3 separate regions of the Homo sapiens genome follow, and all the other regions are linked to region 1. Evidence: promoter capture Hi-C in 16 types of primary human blood cells and fetal thymus (Javierre and others, 2016). All regions are on one chromosome and are shown on one strand. The core of a region is centred on a gene start or on the middle of the fragment in contact, and the rest is flanking DNA. Distances in the headings are between cores, read along the strand shown.

What was found. Contacts are between HindIII fragments. The CHiCAGO score rates a contact against its expected background, and 5 or more counts as called.
Region 2: a contact is called between a fragment that was not itself captured here and the fragment with the promoter of JMJD7 in region 1, in 1 of 17 cell types (endothelial precursors). The highest score is 6.7, in endothelial precursors.
Region 3: a contact is called between a fragment that was not itself captured here and the fragment with the promoter of JMJD7 in region 1, in 1 of 17 cell types (M0 macrophages). The highest score is 5.2, in M0 macrophages.

Annotation. Positions count from the first base shown.
Region 1 is chr15:41,826,703-41,829,402 of GRCh38, reverse strand. JMJD7 (jumonji domain containing 7) reads right to left here and starts at 1,311. Exons shown (of 8, transcript NM_001114632.2): 1 at 1,215-1,311. The coding sequence starts at 1,278. MAPKBP1 (mitogen-activated protein kinase binding protein 1) reads right to left here. Exons shown (of 31, transcript NM_014994.3): 31 at 1,548-2,700. JMJD7-PLA2G4B (JMJD7-PLA2G4B readthrough) reads right to left here and starts at 1,311. Exons shown (of 25, transcript NM_005090.4): 1 at 1,215-1,311. The coding sequence starts at 1,278. RefSeq lists a silencer at 1,334-1,423 and enhancers at 1,158-1,452, 1,484-1,713. The HindIII fragment of the contact is 18,805 bases long and covers 1-2,700 here.
Region 2 is chr15:41,562,052-41,564,751 of GRCh38, reverse strand. TYRO3 (TYRO3 protein tyrosine kinase) reads right to left here. Exons shown (of 19, transcript NM_006293.4): 4 at 2,034-2,204; 5 at 482-568. Among named protein-coding and RNA genes, the nearest start is that of TYRO3, 4.2 kb to the right of the region's middle. RefSeq lists enhancers at 1-315, 1,692-2,379. The HindIII fragment of the contact is 3,171 bases long and covers 1-2,700 here.
Region 3 is chr15:41,470,877-41,473,576 of GRCh38, reverse strand. RTF1 (RTF1 homolog, Paf1/RNA polymerase II complex component) reads right to left here. Exons shown (of 18, transcript NM_015138.5): 8 at 2,228-2,405. Among named protein-coding and RNA genes, the nearest start is that of ITPKA, 22 kb to the left of the region's middle. The HindIII fragment of the contact is 4,459 bases long and covers 1-2,700 here.

The DNA of each region.
Region 1 (2,700 bases), core at 62-2,561:
GGAGGTCGAGGTGCAGCGAGCTATGATCGTGCCACTGCACTCCAGCCTGTGTGACAGAGTAAGACCCTGTCTCAAAAAATATAAAGTATTTAACCAACAAACATACTCACACATGCGCAGAAGACGCTGCTCCTGCAGACTGGCTTCTTCACTGTTTCCTAAACACATCAGGCATACTCCCAAAGAGGGCTTTGCCTGCACTTACCTTCTAACCTACTTCTTCTACTCTACAATGTACTCATTCAGTACACCTGTGGTTGATTGTCCACGTTCTCACTTAGAATGTAACAGGACATAGACTGTAAAAGACAGATTTGTTTTGTTCAGTGATGTATCTCAAACACACTGAACAGAGCCTGGCACACAGAGATGCTGAATAAGTATTTGTTAAATCAATCCTCAAAGTATTCGTTGCAGCATTATTGAAAACAACGGATTGGACATGACCTAAATGACTAAGTGAATACAGCACTAGCACACAGACGTGAAAAAGACTGAGGTAGAGGAATGTGAAATGATCTCCAAGATACACGGTGCAGAAGAGTGTGTTTAGCAGGCTACTATTTGTACAAAAAAAGGGTAAAAAGTCGTGTGTGCACGGATATAAACAATCTTTCTGTAAGAATGCAAACTGGGGCTGGGAGGAAACCTTGCTTCATTTACATTGCGTACCACTGTATATTACATACCCATCACATACACATGAGCCTGTGTTGCTGTTCAGTGGTAAGAAATCATTTAAAAATAGAAAAAAGAAGGAAGGAGGGAAGAGAGAAAGAAAGAAAAGGAATAAAAACCAAGCAGGGGAAGAGCCAGGGACCATTTGGTCAGCCTGCAATCCTCCCAAAGTGCGACAAGGGAGTTGAGGTCGGAGGTGGGGCGCGTGGGGGAGGAATCCGACCACCAGCTGTGTGCCTTCGATGAGCTTTCAACAAGGGTAACAGCAAGCTGCTCAAGACTGTAGGAAACACAGGGCTTCGCCGCGACCACGGTCAAGACGGCACCGGGCCTTGGGAACAACGTGAACAGAATCACCCAGGAAGCCGCGGGAGCGCGCGAACACGGGAGAAGGGAAGCAGGTTGCCACAGAAGAGCAACCCGAGCGGGGCCTCAGGGCAGTCGCACACACGAGGTTCCGAGCCCCCGGTGTCAGCGGCATCCCAGGGCCCCTCCCGTGTTCGGAAATCGCCGCAGCCTGTGGGAGAGCCACTCACCCCTTGCAGCGGCCGGGAATTCTCGTAACTCGCTCCGCACGGCTTCCAAAGCCGCCTCCGCCATGGCTGCGTCAGCGCCGGCCGAGACCCCGCCTTTCCCCGACGCCCCGCCGCAGGCCACACCCCAAGCACTCGCCCCGCCCTCCCCAGAGTCCCCGCCGCAGGCCACACCCCCAGACCCTCGCCCCGCCCTTCCAGAGGCACCCGCCGCAGGCCACACCCCCAGCACCCCGCCCCGTCCTGCCCCTGGACACACACCGGGTTCTGCCACCGAAGCGGTGGAGCGACTGGCAGCGCCCGCTTCGGCCTGCCCCACTGGCCGGCATCCCAGGGTTAACAAACAATTGTGTTTATTGACAAGTTCATACATCAGTACAAACGGGCACGTTAAAAACAGCGCCCCCGCCCCATGCAGCCGAGGATGAGGCAGGAAGCGCCGCGACCTGCACAAAGTATAAAAGTTATAAATAAGGGGCTTTCAAAACAAGGCGGGGGCAAATCTGGAGTGGGGCGGCGGTTGCCGGTGGCCTCAGACATGCAGAAGGGGACGGGGCGCCGGCCGGGCCACGAGGCCCCCCACCCACATGGGGCAGAGGGCAGGAAAAGGGCGGCCACATTCTCACAAACTTCTGGCGAAGGGTAGCTCCCTCCTCGTGAAGGACCTGGCCCAGAGGGCGAACCTGAGTCCCACCTGCGGTGGGCGCGGCTGGTGTGGGAAGTCGGGGCACAGCAGGCACGGGCCCGCCCCCGCCGCCGCGGGAGTTCCAGGGCCATGCGGGTGGCGATGCTAGAGGAGTGGGGAAGGGCCAGGTTTGGAGCAGCTCAAGCGCACTCAGGCTGATGCCCCGGAGCTGGGAACCTTTTGTAACCCTTTTTCTTTTTTTTTTTTGAGATGGCGTGTAGCTTTGTCACCTAGGTTGGAGTGCAATGGCGCGATCTCGGCTCACTGCAACCTCCACCTCCACCTCCAGGGTTCAAGCGATTCTCCTGCCTAAACCTCCCGAGTAGCTGGGATTACAGGCGCCCACCACCACGCCCAGCTAATTTTTTTATTTTTAGTAGACAGGGTTTCACCATGTTGGCCAGGCTGATCTCGAACTCCTAACCTCAGGTGATCCACCCGCCTCGGCCTCCCAAAGTGCTGGGATTACAGGCTTGAGCCACCACACCTGGCCCAGAACCCATTTCTTTATAAGCCTCTGCCTATGGCGCAGCAGGGCGGGTGAAGGGGCTCTCGTGGCCTGAAGCTGTGGTAAAGCTGCTCTGACTTACCTGCAGCAGAGGGGAGCAGTAGGGCCCAGAAAAACCTTTCCTCAACTCTTCAACTGCCTCACGACATGGTCCCACTCTACCTCCTAGGGTCCCCTATCTCCTTTCCCTCACCCCTAATTACTGCCCTTTTACATTCTAACTTATCCCCTCACCTCTGCCACTTACCTGTCCCATCTACCACTTTTCTAGTGTCTCCTTTGGCCCCAGCACCTCC
Region 2 (2,700 bases), core at 27-2,526, 260 kb after region 1:
GGGGCAGCACCTCAGGCTTGGGAGATACAAGGGAGAGACAGGCAGCTGCCCCTGCAGCCACAGCCTGGCTCCTGCAGACACCCTCTCCCTCCCCCTCTCTCTGTACACCAGCCCTCTGGTCTCCTCCATCCGGTACTAGGCTGTTTTCCCCACCCCCATCCCCTCAAAGGGAGGGGCAGAAACAAGGCTGGGCATGGGCCTTGACCATCTCCTGCTGCCTCCCTCCCTCCTTCCCTCCCTCCCAAGGACTCTGCTTCGTGATGGGAAATCTGCTGTGACGTCAGGATTCTATTCTCATCTCAGCCACGCAGGGTCTCAGGTGCTCCCACTAGGAATGGGAGCTATGCCAATTAACCCCTTGCTCCCTAGATCCCAGCAGGACCACAAGGGGAGCTGGAACACAGAATGATTCTAACTGCTGGACAGCTCGCTGGGAATGCCCCTGGCCTCATCCACCCTTCCTCCCTGCCAGCCCTCCTACCTTGAAGGTGAACAGTGGCTGTGCGAGAAGAGGCCAGGCCTTTTAGGTTGTGAGCTTCACAGGAAAACATGGTGCTCTGGGTCACCCCTGGGGCCAGAAAACCTCAGTCAGCTCCCCAAGCAGCAACCCCACTCAGTGCGGGACTGGGAAAGGGGAATACTCAGGCTCTGGTCTGAACATCCTTAAATCCCTCCTGCCAAAGGAAGGGGCTGGGCAGTGAGGTACGGTGAAATGAACAGGGACACTAGAGTCTGGTGAGCCTGGAGAGGGCTCTGTTTTCTCATCTCTCAAATGGGAGAATTGTGAGAATCAGGTAATGTGTGTCAAGTGCACGGCATGCTAAATAAGCCCTTGAGAAACGTTATACCACCCTCCCACCTCCATCCCATCTCCCACACACAGCACAAATTGCCCCCCTTTTCTGGTCACTCTTTTATTGCGCATACCAGAGTGAGCCCTTCTGTTTGCTCTGTGCCCCCTTGGGGTTGTTATTTGCAGACTCTCTGCCTTGCAGTAGTTCTCAGCTCTTTATGCACATGTCTTGTCTCCCCAGTTATACTCAGTTCTTTAGCTTCTATTTCCTTTGTATTCCCTCTGTCCCCTGTGGTGCCTAGCACAGTGTGGTGTGGAGTAGGAGTTCAGTGAGTGCTTATTATCAGGCTGCCTGCCTGAGGGTCCCAACCACGCACACCTGGAAGGAAGTGAACCCAACCTCCTCTCTAATCTGCTCCAACTCAGCGCCTCCTGAACAGGACCTGCACTTGCTTCCAAGAGGTCTCATAGTCCACCTCTTGTCAAGATTCAAATTGCTGGAGAACCTAGCTCAGCGCCCATTTCCCTGGCACCTTCCAGCACATGAGACCAAGCTCAGACTCCCATCTTTTTTGCCCAATTCAAGCCTCAACCAGAAACAAATAAGCAAGCCTTTGTTTCACAAATAAGCAAGCCTTACAAGCATGTGAGGGTATGTGCCCAAGAAACTTGGGGCCCAGGTGGGTGTGCAGGTGTGACTGTGCAGAGGTATGGACAGACACAGTTGTTTGAGAAAACGTGTGGAGGTTTCCCGGAAAGCGCCATTAGGGGAGGAGGCCCTGTATCTTTGTGCTAACCTCCCCCTACCCCTTCTCTCTCCCTCCTCTCCCCTCTCTGCAGCCTGAGAGTCTTGTCTTCTCAGTGTCTGCCAGATACTCCTCCCTAGTTCTGCGTGGGCTGGTTTCTGGCTCCTTTCCTTGGGAGGGGTGGGGGATGGGTGCCCCTGGTCTCATACAATTCATCTCTGAGGGCCAGCTGTGCATGGCCTGGACTGCTGTGAACCAAAGGTGGCCCCACACCCTCCTTAAGCACACACAGCAGGATCACCACTAATCAGCCCACCCAGCCAGCCTAGCACACCTGACTAATGAGCTTAGTAATGGTGCAGCTCACGTCCCCAGACACTGGGGCTTGCTCTGGACGCTCACAACCGCAAGCTCAGTGGCTGAAACTGCCAGCTTCAGTGCCCTCCAGGACCCAGCTCCTTCTCCACTCCCAGCCCCCTTCTGAGGCTGCTCACCTGTTACATTTAAAACAGATGGAGAGGGAGCGGGTCCCCCGATCTTCGTAGTTCCTCTCCACCAGACAATGGTAACAGGTTCAGGGGGACCCACAGCCTCACAAGACAGTTGGAAAGGGGCATTGGGTGGCACTGCCAGATCTTTTGGCTCCACTGTGAAAAATGGCACACCTAGGAGAGAAGGGGAGTGAGGAGTGAGCCCTGCCACCTCTTGGCTTCCTACTGTACAAATCACAAGTCTGTTTACATCTGAAGTCCTCCACGCAGAAGGTTCCCACAGGCCCCTTATGATTAGGTCAACAGCAGAACAGGCATCTAGCTTGAGAGGTAGGCGGTGCTTCTCTTTTTCAGGCTCCTTAGGAATTTTTTTTTTTTTTTTTTTTTTTTGAGATTGGTCGCGGGGAGGTCTCTCTATGTTGCCCAGGCTGGCCTGGAACTCCTGGGGGCTCAAGTGATCCTCTGGCCTTAGCCTCCGGAGTAGCTGGGACTACAGGCACACGCCACCATGCCTGGCACCTTAGACACATCTTCCATGCTGCCCCCTTAGGCATGGCAGATTTGGACAGCTCTTCTTGCAGTAAGAGAGGAGACTGGGGGTGGAGAGCTGGGAGAGGGGCATAAAACTCAGGGGAGTGGGTGAGAGCTTTAGCAGAGTTCTGCTGCCAGG
Region 3 (2,700 bases), core at 184-2,683, 360 kb after region 1:
AGGCTGGGCACAGTGTCTCATACCTGCAAACCTAGCACTTTCGAAAACCGAGGCAGGAAGATGGCTTGAGTCCAGGAGTTCCGGATTAGCCTGGGCAACATGGTTAAGACACTGTCTCAAAAAAAAAAAAAAAACCCAACACCTGGGCCGGGCGTGGTGGCTCACACCTGTAATCCCAGCATTTTGGGAGGCCAAGGAAGGCAGATCACGAAGTCAGGAGATCGAGACCATCCTGGCTAACAAGGTGAAACCCCGTCTCTACTAAAAATACAAAAAATTAGCTGGCATGGTGGTGGGCGCCTGTAGTCCCAGCTACTCGGGAGGCTGAGGCAGGAGAATGGCGTGAACCCAGGAGTGGGAGCTTGCAGTAAGCCAAGATCGCGCCACTGCACTCCAGCCTGGATGACAGGGCGAGACTCCGTCTCAAAAAAACAAAACAAAACAAAACAAAAAACCAACACCAAGCACTTTAGGAGGCTGAGGCCAGAACATCACTTGAGGCCCGGAGTTTGAGACCAGCATAAGAAACAGAGAGAGGCTGTTGCTACAAAAATTTTTTTTTAAATCCCAAAGTGAGGCCGGGTGCGGTGGCTCACGCCTGTAATCCCAGCACTTTGGGAGGCCGAGGCGGGCGGATCACGAGGTTAGGAGATCAAGACCATCCTGGCTAACACGGTGAAACCCCATCTCCACTAAAAATACAAAAAATTAACCAGGCGTGGTTGCGGGCGCCTGTAGTCCCAGCTACTGGGGAGGCTGAGACAGGAGAATGGCGTGAACCTGGGAGCCAGAGTTTGCAGTGAGCCGAGATCGTGCCACTGAACTCCAGCCTGGGCCACATAGCGAGACTCCGTCTAAAAAAAAAAAAAAAGAGACTCAGTCTAAAAAAAAATCAGCCAGGCGTGGTGGCGCATGCCTGTAGTCCCAGCTACTTGGAGGCTGAGGCATGAGAATCGCTTGAACCCAGGAGGCAGAGGCTGCAGTGAGCCAAGAGCGTGCCACTGCACTCCAGCCTGGGCAACGGGGTAAGACTCTGTCTCCAAAAATAAAAAACAAAAAATTAAAAATAAGGCCGGGCTCAGTGGCTCATGTCAATAATCCCAGCACTTTGGGAGGCCGAGACAGGTGGATCACCTGAGGTCAGGAGTTCAAGACCAGCCTGGCCAACATGGTGAAACCCCATCTCTACTAAAAATACAAACAGTAGCCAGGCACGGTGGCGGGTGCCTGTAACACTAGCTACTCGGGAGGCTGAGGCAGGGGAATTACTTGAACCCAGGAGGCGGAGGTTGCAGTGAGCCAAGATCGTGCCATTGCACTCCAGCCTGGGCGACAAAAGCGAAACTCTGTCTGAAAAAAAAAAACAACAAATAAATAAAAATAAAAATAGGCCAGGTGCGGTGGCTCACGCCAGCACTTTGGGAGGCTGAGGCAGGTGGATCACAAGGTCAAGAGTTCAAGACCAGCCTCGCCAACATGGTGAAACCCCGTCTCTACTAAAAATACAAAAATTAGCCAGGTGTGGTGGCATGCGCCTGTAGTCCCAGCTACTTGGGAGGCTGAGGCGGGAGAATCACTTGAACCCGGGAGGCGGAGGTTGCAGTGAGCCAAGACCACGCCATTGCACTCCAGCCTGGGTGACAGAATGAGACTCCGTCTCAAAAAATAAAAATAAAAAAATAATAATAATGGTAAAATAAAATATAAATAAATAAATAAATAAATCCCAAAGTGTTGGGATTACAGGAGTAAGCCACTGTGCCCAGTCCACCTAGACCACAGAAGCAGTGCTGGAACCTACATAATAACCTGTATTAGTCTGGAGGGTTTTTTTTAACCTCAATACAATTCCCTGGTGTAGAAGTCACTTGGTATGCAACATGAAACTTTTCATTCATTGGTTTTTCAAATGAACAAATCTTTTAGATTATGTAACTCCCAATGAACACTTCATAGATGCCTCCCTTCTCCCTTTTATACTGAAGGGAGAATAGAGAAAATTATTCTACATCCAAATCTTCCAGGCCCTTGGGCTCCAAGTCCTCCTCTTGGCAACAAGTCATGAAGGATTCCTGGGCACCTCACTGCTCTATGGGGATCCCACTTGGAGTCTACTTTCCATCAAATGCTGAGAGAAGAGTGATCGATTTTTTCAGTAGCTCCTGCCCTCAGTTGAGACTAATTATACTGAAAGCATGGACAATTGTCCAAGGGAAGAAATACCAACCCGGTAAACTGGTTTGCTGTTGTGGTTTCCGATGCCAATCCGCACAAAACATCCTGTGACAGTTTTAGCAAAGAAGGGCATGTGACACCAGCGTTCTAGCTTATGCCGTGATAATCGAACCCGATTCAATTCTTCAGGTAAGGAAACTGGTTGGGATTTGGGAGGGATCTCTTCTTTCCTAAGAGGAACAAAGGGGCACTGGAAAAAATGTTCATCATAAAAACAGAACAAGACAGAAAAATAATATCAACTCCTCAAAACTTAACCAAAGTACATGTGACTGGCCTAGGAGGAGAAGTAAATGAAGCACCAGCAAAGACTTGTAATAGGATCCTGTTCCTGACCAGTAGTATGAGCTGTTTCAAATGAGGCTGCCATCTTAGATAACCCATCAGAGTAAGAAAATGAATGAGCCTGTAATCCCAGCACTTTGGGAGGCCGAGGCGGGCGGATCACGAGGTCAGGAGATCGAG